Regions from separate parts of the Homo sapiens genome. Here regions 2 and 3 are each linked to region 1. Evidence: promoter capture Hi-C in human tissues and cell types (Jung and others, 2019). All regions are on one chromosome and are shown on one strand. Each heading gives the region's core, a stretch centred on a gene start or on the middle of the fragment in contact. The rest is flanking DNA. Distances are from core to core; before and after follow the strand shown. Region 1 holds the start of RFPL2 (ret finger protein like 2). Region 2 overlaps BPIFC (BPI fold containing family C). Region 3 overlaps LINC02558 (long intergenic non-protein coding RNA 2558).

Evidence for each region. Contacts are between HindIII fragments. The study calls those that stand out against the background at their distance.
Region 2: a contact is called between a fragment that was not itself captured here and the fragment with the promoter of RFPL2 in region 1, in 2 of the 25 tissues and cell types used here (lymphoblastoid cells and spleen).
Region 3: a contact is called between a fragment that was not itself captured here and the fragment with the promoter of RFPL2 in region 1, in 6 of the 25 tissues and cell types used here (IMR-90 fibroblasts, dorsolateral prefrontal cortex, heart left ventricle and 3 more).

Annotation. Positions count from the first base shown.
Region 1 is chr22:32,203,233-32,206,836 of GRCh38, forward strand. RFPL2 (ret finger protein like 2) reads right to left here and starts at 1,841. Exons shown (of 5, transcript NM_001394555.1): 1 at 1,475-1,841. It overlaps SLC5A4-AS1 (SLC5A4 antisense RNA 1), which reads left to right and starts at 1,883. Exons shown (of 4, transcript NR_149072.1): 1 at 1,883-2,015. RefSeq lists an enhancer at 3,285-3,604. The HindIII fragment of the contact is 14,140 bases long and covers 1-3,604 here.
Region 2 is chr22:32,433,046-32,436,649 of GRCh38, forward strand. BPIFC (BPI fold containing family C) reads right to left here. Exons shown (of 17, transcript NM_174932.3): 10 at 2,659-2,835; 11 at 674-727. Among named protein-coding and RNA genes, the nearest start is that of RTCB, 23 kb to the left of the region's middle. The HindIII fragment of the contact is 8,775 bases long and covers 1-3,604 here.
Region 3 is chr22:32,011,647-32,015,250 of GRCh38, forward strand. All of the region lies in intron 4 of LINC02558 (long intergenic non-protein coding RNA 2558), which reads left to right. Among named protein-coding and RNA genes, the nearest start is that of SLC5A1, 30 kb to the right of the region's middle. The HindIII fragment of the contact is 4,927 bases long and covers 1-3,604 here.

The sequences.
Region 1 (3,604 bases), core at 591-3,090:
TGCTGTGGGCAGTGCAGCCACGGATACCACCCTCAACCAGCCCCTCGCCACAGGAAATGACTCCCGGGATAGCGCCCCAAATCAGCCCCCAGCCTCGGGCAGTGACGCCTGGAGTAGGTCACCCAACCCAACTCCTGCGCGGGCAGTGCAGCACCAGATAGCGCCCCTAAAACGCCTCCCGCCACCGGCGGTGTAGCCCAGGATAGCGCCGCCAACCCGGTACTCGCCGCGGCAGTGTAGCGATAGGGCACCCAATCTGCCACCCACCGCCGGCAGTGCAACCCCAGATAGCGCACCGAACTCACTCCCTGCTGGGCAGTGCAACCCCACATAGCATCCAACCCGCCTCCCCACCCAGCCACTGGCAGTCCGCCCCCGATAATGTCCCATACACGCTCCTGGCTGTGGGCAGTGCAGCCCATGGGTAGCGCCCCCAACCAGCCCCCAGCCATGGGGAGTGATGCCTCGGATAACACACCCAACAAGTTCCCCACCATGGCACTGATGTCCCAGGTAGCGCCCCCAATCCTTGCCCCTCAGCGACCAGTGCAGCCATGGATAGCGCCCTCAACAAGCCCCTCCACTGACCCCCGCCGCTGTGGGAAATGACGCCCGGGATAACGCACCCAACCCTCCCCCGCCATGAGCAATGCAACACGCACTACTGCTCCTTACACGCCCCCCACTACATGCGGTGTAGCCAACGATGGCGCCCCCATCTCCCCCTCGCCTCGGGCAGTGTAGCTCCCGATAGTGCATCCAACCCATTCCCTCTGCCCCTCTCCTCCCACCGAGTCAACCACCGCCGGCAGTCCAACCCCAAATAGCGCACCCAATCCACTCCCTGCCAGGCAGTGAAGCCCCCCGATAGCACCCAACCCGCACCCCCACCCCCGCCACTGGCAGTCCGCCCCGATAACGCCCCAACACGCTCCTGGCTGTAGGCAGTGTAGCCCATAGATAGAGCCCCCAACCAGCCCCCAGCCAAGGGCAGTGACGCCTCGGATATCACAGCCAACAAGTTCCCTGCCATGCGCACTGATGTCCCAGATAGCGCCCCCAACCCGTACCCCAGCGCGACCAGTGCAGCCACGGATAGCGCCCCCAGCAAGCCACCCCGCGGCTGCGGGAAATGACGTCCGGTAAAGCACCCAACCTTCCCGTGCTGTAGGCAGTGCAGCACCCAATACTGCCCCTAACACGCCTCCCACCACCGGGTTGTAGCCCACGATGGCGCCCTCAATCCGCCCCCGCTCCCACCTCGGGCAGTGCAGCTCCAGATCGTGCATCCAACCTGTCCCCCTCCCCGCCCCCTGCCGCAGGCAGTGAGCCCTGGATAGCTCATCCACCCCGCCACCTTTCTACATTCTGGCTGCGGTCTAGTCTCCCTCACCGCCACCAACGGCAGCGAGCCGAGCCATGCTGCTGCAGGCTTTCAAGCCTCCAGCGTGGGACAGGTGACTCCTCCTCTAACCTGGGCATGGAGCAGATGGGCTGGCAGACGCAGAAGTGCCTGGAATGGCAAGAACCCCTCCCCCCACAGACCGAGGTTATGCAAGTAAGGTTTCTGGACTACATGTTCAGATTGGATGAGAGAAAAACCTCTAGGTCTACTCTGATTGTGCTTTATTTTCACGTTCTGACTGGATGACAGCAAGTCTTAGGATAACCAATCAGAACAAGATAACAAAGCCCGATCAGAGTAGGCCTAGAGGTTTCTCTCATCCGATCAGACTATGTAGTCGAGAAACTTCATTTGCATTAAACTCAGTATATAAAGGATGCCAAGAGGGGTGGCTTGCCCTTCCAGGCTCATCTGCGTCGGCCTGCGTAGCTGCTCTGTGCCCGGCTTAGAGGAGAAGGAGGAGGAGCCACTTGCCGCGCATGCCAGAGGCTAGAGTCATCTACCGCGCATGCTGGAGGCTGGAGCCTACAGTGGCTCACCTCGCTGCTGCGGTTGGTGGCCGCGAGGGTGACTACAGCGCAGCCAGAATGGTGAAAAGGTGGCAGAATAGGTTCGTTATCCCAGGCCGTACTGCCTGTGGCGTGGGGGGCGGGTTGGGGGCCCTATCCAGGGCGTCACTGCCCGTGTTGGGGGGCTGCTTGAGTGTGGTACCTCGGGCGTCACTGCCCGCTGAGGGGAGTGGGGTGGGGGCGCTATCCGGGGGCGCTATCCAGCCTATGGCTGGAGATGGGTTGGGGCGCTATCCGAAGCTGTAATTCCTGCGGCAGTGGGGAGTTTTGGGGGCACTATCTGGGGATGCACTGCCCGCGGCCGGGGGGCGGGGGTGAGTTAGTAGAACTATCAGGTGCTGCAATGCCCTGATGCCCTTGTTGGGGACAGGTTGTGGGGGGCTGGTGGGTGCAACACTGCTGGTGGCGAGGGTGGGTGCTGCTATCCGGTGCTACTCTGCCTGTGGGGGACGGGGGCGGGCGTGATATCCAGGGCATCATTGCCTGCATCTGGGAGCTGGTTGGGGACACTATCCATGGCTGCACTGCCCACAGTGGGGAGCGGGTTGGGGGCACTATTTGGGGCTGCAATGCTGGTGGTGGGGGACGGGTTAGGGTCACTATAGGGTGCTACACTGCTGGCAGTGGGGAGGGGGTTGTTGAGGGCGCTCTCTGGGGGCTACACTGAGACAGGTAGCGGGGGGTTGTTGGGATTGGTACCGGGGCTGGACTGCCCATGGAGAGGGGGTGGGGGCGTTGGTTGGGGGCGCTATTGAGGGCCGGGTACACTGCCTGCGGTGGAGGGGTGGGTTGGGTGCTATCAGGGGTCTGTACTGCCTAGCAGGGAGCGGGTGGGTGTGCTATCTGGGGCTGCACTGGCTGCAGCAGGGGCAGGTTGGGTGCACTATAGGGGGCTACACTGCCCTTGGCAGGGGGTGGTTTAGGTGAGCTGTCTGTGGCCGCACTGCCCGAGGTGGGGAGTAAGTTTGGGTGCTATCTGTGGCTGCACTGCCTGGAGGCAGGAAGTGGGTTGAGGGTGCTATCCTGGGCTGCTTCTCCTGGTGGGGAGCAGGTAGGGGCACTATCCAGGGTTGCACTGCCCGGGGTAGGGGGCGATTTGGGTGCCATATCGGGGCATCACTGCCCACGGCAGGGGTCTGGTTGGGGTCGCTACCCATGGCTACACTGTCTACAGCCACTGCCTACGGCAGGGAGCGGGTTGGGGGCGCTATCCCGGGCTGCGCTGCCCAAGGCAGGGGGTGGGTTGCGGGTGCCATTGGTGCTGCAGTGTCCGAGGCAGGGGCGGGTTGGGGTTGCCATCTGGTGCTACACTGCCAGCTGTGGGGGAGGGTCGGGGGCGCTATCGGGGGCTGCACCGTCCCCCTGGTGGTGGGCAGCGGAGGTGTCAGTGACAGCGGTGGTCAGAGGAGGTGAGAGGGACTCCAGTCTCTAGAGGGCCATCTCCTTCTGCTCCTGGCCAGCACACAGCATTTCTGCGGGGATCCTGAGCACGGCCCGGCCCCTAGACCTGCTGTGGTTCCCAGGCGCGCGCCCTCTCACCATGTGTTGCTGAGACCGTCTGGGACCCCTGGGCACACAGTAGCGGACATCATGGAGTGACAGGGCCCTGTGGGTGGAGGTGTCAGGAAGA
Region 2 (3,604 bases), core at 676-3,175, 230 kb after region 1:
TAGAAAAATTAGCTGGGCATAGTGGCTTGTGCCTGTAGTCCCAGCTACTTGGGAGGCTGAGTTGGGAGGATCACTTGAGCAGGGGAGGCGGATATTGCAGTGAGCCAAGATCGTGCCACTGCACTCCAGCCTGGATGACAGAGCGAGACCCTGTCTCAAAAAACAAACAAACAAAAACAAATCTAGGTCTATCTGACTCAAGATCCTTGCTCTAGAACCAGGATGCTACATGAACATCTCTTTGTCCTCAAGGGCAATCCCTAGCCCGTAGGTTCATTATGTTCAATACTTAGTGTGCTACGAAGGCACAATATTAACAGTTGCTTTTTACTACAGTTACAAGTGTGGGCACTAATCCTTCATTTAAGAATTGAATCCTTCATTTCCACTAATAAATCCTTTATTTAAACTAATTATTTCAAGTATGATGGAATATTGTGGAAGGCACGGTGATTTATTTTGTGAACTTACAATTATACTCTCACTTGTATGTTAATTGCACTTTAAACTGTACTGTTCAGTAAATATTTGTAGATATTCGATTACGAGAAAAAACTCCCAATAATAGACAGAGGGACTTATCCAAAAAGGAATACGTAGAACCCACAAGTCTTCCAGAAGTAATTGCAATGGAGCCAAATACACTATCAAGACTCAAACCCTGAGCACTTACCCGGGAGAGCACGTTGCCAAGGCCTTGAGAGTTTTGAACAAAATGGTTGGAAATCTGGAAAATAAAGCCCATTATGTCACTGTTAGGATTTTACGTGGATTGTCTTTTCAGGGAAAATGTAGTGTTCCCTATAATTTGACGAATTGTGAAGCTGTTACACCATAAAATATTCAGTGTTTAAAGGTGACCTATCATTTTATAGCCCAATCATAGGGAATCCGAGGCTCAGAGAAGTAAAGTGACTTGCCCAAGGTCACACAGGATGTTATATTTCTTTTAACTCTGGGAACAATACAGTCTATTGTTAATAACTGTAGAATGTTTACACATGAATTGTACGTATGTAGTACAACAAAGTTTTAGTTATATATATATATATCTATATGTACATATTCTTTATTTTTATATATTACAACCTATCTATGTGTACATATTCTTTATATATATATTACAATCTATCTATGTGTACATATTCTTTATTTATGTATATTACAATCTAATGTGTACATATTCTTTATTTATATATATTACAATCTATGTGTACATATTCTTCATTTATATATTACACTCTATATGTACATAGTCTTTATATATATATTACACTCTGTGTACATATTCTTCATTTATATATATTACAATCTATGTGTACATATTCTTTATTTATATATATTACAATCTATGTGTACATATTCTTTATATATATTACAATCTATGTATACATATTATTTATATATATTACATCTATGTGTACATATTCTTCATTTATATATATTACAATCTATATGTACATAGTCTTTATTTATATATATATTACAATCTATGTGTACATATTCTTCACTTATATATATTACAATCTATCTATGTATACATATTCTACAGTCATTAACGATAAGCCTTGTGTTACTGTCCTCACTTTTAGGGATTACTGAGATACTGGATGCTTAAGGAATTTACCTTCAGAGATAAATGATTTTGAAGTCTGCAGCTAGAAGTGTCTAATTCTCAGTATCGTAAGATAGCCACTGCTGCCATACTTACCATTCTGAACATAAGCTTTATACCTACTTATATAATTAAAACATATAGAATGAGGAGATTCAAAAAGAGATGCTCAATAAAAGTTTTTGGTTGACTGGCTAGAGACAGTGCTGTCATTATAAAAGGGAGGTGCATGACAGAGGATCAATGAATATCTGTATTATTACTGATCATTGTAGATAAACCAGCTGTAATTACAACCAGGATAACTTTACGTCAGCATAATACAGGGAATAATGATGACAATGATGATAAGCAACAGTTATATCGCACTTATTCTGTGTTGGGGATTGGTCTGAATGCTTGACATGTATTTAAATCTTTTAATGCCCATATAAACTCTATGAGTAAGGAACTATTATTATCTGCCTTTTCCAGATGAAGAAATTCTGGCCCACAGAAGTTATATAAATTGAAATTACCTCTAAGGTCACAGGCAATACATGATGGAAAGGGATCTTGCTATTATTGGAGATTAATCTAGAACAGTGGTGAGTGGTGAGGTATTAGCAGAACTGGAAACTTGACAACTCCCCAACTAATACAGGTTGAACATTCCTAATCTGAATATCCAAAATTCAAAGTGCCCCAAAATCCAACTATTAAATGCTGACATGATACACAACGGAAATGCTTATTGGAGCATTTTAGATTTTGGATTTTCAGATTAGGGCTGCTCAACCGGTAAGTATATATAATGCAAATATCCCAAAATCTGACAAAATCCGAAATCCAGAACACTTCTGGTCCCAAGCATTTTGGATAAGGGATGCTCAACCCGTAACAATGTTCACTCCACAATTCCCTCATTCCTTCACTGTCTTGCTGGGAGTGATAGCCTAAAAAGGTCCCAGAATCGAAATTGTGGCATAAAAGTTCTACAATAGGATACTTATAAAAAGGCTGAATGATGGTGACCATTGACATCCTCAGTTAACTCTCCTCACCTCTTCGGTGGAGAGAGTGACATTGAAAACCCCAGCTGTGAAATGAGCAAAGGACGCAGATTTAAAGAAATACTCGGCGATTCCAATGTAGAGCATGGAGTTGCTGCGTTCTGGGAGCACAAAAGGAACTGGTGAGAAGGGGGGGTCGGTGAGGTTTTCCAGTGGGTAGAATACACCCTGTGGGAAAAGAGAGAGAAAGACCAGTGTATCAGGTGAAAACTCAAATTCTAAGAAGACTAAGAAGATGGACCCTCTGAAGTCAGAATAAGAATTCCAGAAGCTCGGGCCAGGTGTGGTGGCTCACGCCTATAATCCCAACACTTTGGGAGGCTGAGGCGGGTGAATCACTGGAACACTGGAGTTTGAATTGATTGAATGACTGTTTTTCCATGATCAACCTGGGCAACATGGCAGGCCCCGTTTCTATAAAAAATACAAAAATTAGCCAGGTGTGGTGGCGCGTACCTGTAGTTCCGGCTACTTGGGAGGCTGAGTGAGGTGAATCCCTTGAACCAGGGAGGTTGAAGCTGCAGTGAATTGTGACTGTGCCACTGCACTTCAGCCTCCAGCCTGGGTGACAGAGGGGGACCTTGTCCAAAAGAAGAAGAGGAAGAGGAAGAAGAAGAAGAAGAAAGAAGAGGAAGAGGAGGAGGAGGAGGAGGAGGAGGAGGAGGAAGAGGAGGAGGAGGAAGAGGAGGAGGAGGAGGGAAAAGAAGGAGAAGGAGAAGGAGAAGGAGAAGAAGAAGCATAAGAAGAAGAAGAAAAAGAAGAGGAAGAAGAAGAAGAAGAAGAATCCTAGAAACTCAGTAATGATGAAAAACTGTTAAGGCTTTCTGACTCCTTGACCAGTGACTATTTTTCAAAGCTCTTAGGATTCTTGAGCATATTTAGGTGTGTCTGTTTCACCCCAGGGTGTAACCCAATGAGAACCCTTGTTTGAACTTTT
Region 3 (3,604 bases), core at 608-3,107, 190 kb before region 1:
AAGATACATATTTGATATGATTTCAATCTTCTTAAATTTGTTAAAACTTTTCTTATGACCTAGCATGTGCTCTATCCTGAAGAATGTTCTTTGTGCACTTCAGAAGAATGCGTATTCTATTGCGGTTGGGTGGAACGTTGTGTACATTTCTATTAGGTACTTTAGGTATACAGTGTTGTTCAAGTCTAGTGTTTCCTTATTGATTTTCTGTCTGGGTAACCTATCCATTATTGAAGGTGAGGTACTGAAGTCTCCTACATATTGTTGCATTGCTCTCTATTTTTCCCTTCAGATCCCTTAATGCTTCTATCTAGGTACTGTGATGTTGGGCACATATATATTTATAATTGCTGTATCTTCCTATTGAGTTGATACTGTTGTCATTGTATAACGACCTACTTTGTCACTTGTGACAGTTTGTTTTTTAGATGGAGTCACGCTCTCTCACCCAGGCTGGAGTGCAGTGGCATGATCTCAGCTCACTGCAACCTCTGTCTCCGGGGTTCAAGTGATTCTCCTGCCTCAGCCTCCTGAGTAGCTGGGATTATAGGTGCCTCCCACCATGCCCGGCCAAATTTTGTATTTTTAGTAGAGATGGGGTTTCACCATCTTGGCCAGGCTGGCACAAACTCCTGACCTCAGGCGATCCTCCTACCTCAGTGTCTCAAAGTGCTGGGATTACAGGCGTGAGCCGCTTGTGACAGTTTTTGACTTAAAAGTCTATTGTGTCTAATATCAGTTCCCACAGTTGCTCTCTTTTGGCTACCATTTGCATGGGTCTTTTTCCATCTCCTCAATTTTAACCTGTATGCTCTTATATCTAAAATGAAACTCTTGTAGATAGCACTTAGTTGAATCGTTTTGTTTTTTTAAGTCCATTCAGCCACTATATGTCTTTTGATTGGTGAGTTTAATTCATTTACATTTAAAAGTAATTATTGATAGGTAAGGACTTACTGCTGTCATTTTCTTGTTTTCCATTTTGTAGATTCTTTGTTTCTTCTCTCTTTCTTTGTGATTTGATGATTTTTTTTGGTAGTGATATGCTTTGATTATTTTCTCTCAATATTTTGTGTATCTATTGTAGGTTTTTTGTGTTTACCCTGAAGCTTGCATAAAATATAGTTATAACAGTTTATTTTAAAGCTGACAAGATTTTTTTTTTTTTGAGCTGGAGTCTTGCTCTGTCGCCCAGGCTGGAGTGCAGTGGGATGATCTCGGCTCACTGCAACGTCTGCCTCCTGGGTTCAAGCAATTCTCCTGCCTCAGCCTCCCGAGTGGCTGGGATTACATGCGACTGCCACCACGCCCAGCTAATTTTTGTATTTTTAGTAGAGACAGGGTTTCACCATGTTGGCCAGGCTGGTCTCGAACTCCTGACCTCAAGTGATCTGCCTGCCTTGGCCTCCCAAAGTCCTGGGATTACAGGCATGAGCCACCGTGCCCGGCCGACAAAGTTATTTTTATTCCCTTTTTAATTTTTATACTAGGGTTAGAAATAATTTATACATCACCATTACTTTATTATGTTATTATGTTTTTGACCATATATTTACCTTTACTAGCAAGTTTTGTACTTTCATATGCTTTCATGTTGCTGTTTAGCATCTTTTCATTTCAACTTGAAAAACTTTATTTAGCACTTCCTATAAGGCAAGTCTAGTGGTGATTAACCCTCTCAGTTTTTGTTTGTCTTTCCTTCATTTTTATAGGACAGTTTTGCTGGGTATGGTATTCTTGGTTGGTAGGTTTTTTTTTTTCCTAGAACCTTTTATTTTTGTTGTTGTTGTTTTGAGACAGGGTCTTACTCTGTTGCCTAGGCTGCAGTGCAGTTATGTGATCATGGCTCGCTGAAACCTTGATGAAGCCTTGACTTCCTGGGCTCAGGTGATTTTCCCACCTCAGCCTCCTCAACATCTGGGACTACTGGCATGCACCACCACACCCAGCTAATTTTTGTATGTAGATATGGGGTCTCACTATGTTTCCCAGGCTGATTTTGAACTCCTAGTTTCAAGCAATCCTCCCATCTTGGCCTCTTAAAGTGCTGGGACTACAGATGTGAGCCACTGCACCCAGCCAGCACTTTGAATATATTATCTCACTCTATTATGGCCTGCAAGGTTTATGCTGAGACATACTGACAGTCTCACGGGGATTTCTTTTTATGTGAAAAGTCACATTTCTCTTGCTGCTTTCAAAATTACCTCTTTGTCTTTGAGTTTTGACAATTCAATTATAATGTATCTTGATGTAGAACTCTTTAGGTTTAACTTATTTGGAGAATTTGGGCTTCATAAATCTGGATGTCAATTTTCCCCAGATTTGGGATTTTTTTCAGTAATCATTTCTTTAAATAAGCTTTTATGCTTATTTCTCTTCTCTTTTTGGAGGTGCCATAATGCACACATTGGTTCCCTTGATGTTATCCCACAAGTCTCACAGGGTTTCTTTACTCATTTTCATTCCTTTTGATAATTTCAAATGACCTGTCTCCAAGTTTGCTGATTCTTTCTTTTGTCTGATTGAGTCTGCTGTTGCTGCTCTCTATTGGATTTTTCAATTCATTCATTGTATTTTTTTTTTTTTTTTTTTTTTTTTTTTTTTGAGACAGAGTCTCACTCTGTTGCCGAGGCTGGGACTGCAGTGGTGTGATCACTCCAGCCTCGACCTGCTGGGCTCAAGTGATCCTCCCACCTCAGCCTCCCAAGTAGCTGGGACTACAGGTGTGTGCCACCACACTCAGCTAATTAAAAAAATTTTGGGGGCCAGGCACAGTGGCTCATGCCTATAATTCTAGCACTTTGGGAGGCCGAGGCGGGCAGATCACCTGAGGTCAGGAGTTTGAGATCAGCCTGACCAACATGGAGAAATCTGGTCTCTACTAAAAATACAAAATTAGCCGAGCCTGGTGGTGCACACCTGTAATCTCAGCTACTCAGGAGGCTGAGGCAGGAGAATTGCTTGAACCCGGGGTGGGGGGCGGAGGCTGCAGTGAGCTGAGTTTGTGGCATTGCACTCCAGCCTGGGCAACAAGAGCACAACTCCGTCTCAAAAAAAAATTTTTGTGTGTGTGTGTGTGTGTAGATGAGGTTTCACTATGTTGCCCAGGCTGATCTCAAACTCCTGAGCTCAAGTGATCTTCCTGCCTTGGGCCCCCACAGTGCTGTGATTACAGGCATGAGCCACTGTGCCTGGCCCATTTTTAAATAAAATTTAATAACAAGGAAAATCTTCATTAAAAAGTGCTGAGTAACAAAAACAGGCTATGAAACTATATGTACACACTTTGATCCCCAAATATGTATACTTGGTGTGTGTGTATGTACAAACAATAACACACGTAAAAGCTGTGAGGAAAATTATTAGTAGTGTTTACCTGGATGCTAGATGACTTAAAAATACTTTTCAATAATATTCATACTCCACACATGGAAACACTCAGAATAGTTTGAAATAAGTCAACATAGAAAAAGCAGAGATGAGGCCGGGCACAGTGGCTCACGCCTGTAATCCCAGCACTTTAGGAGGCTGAGGTGGGCAGATCACCTGAGGTTGGGAGCTCGAGACCAGCCTGGCTAACATAGTTAAACCCCATCTCTAC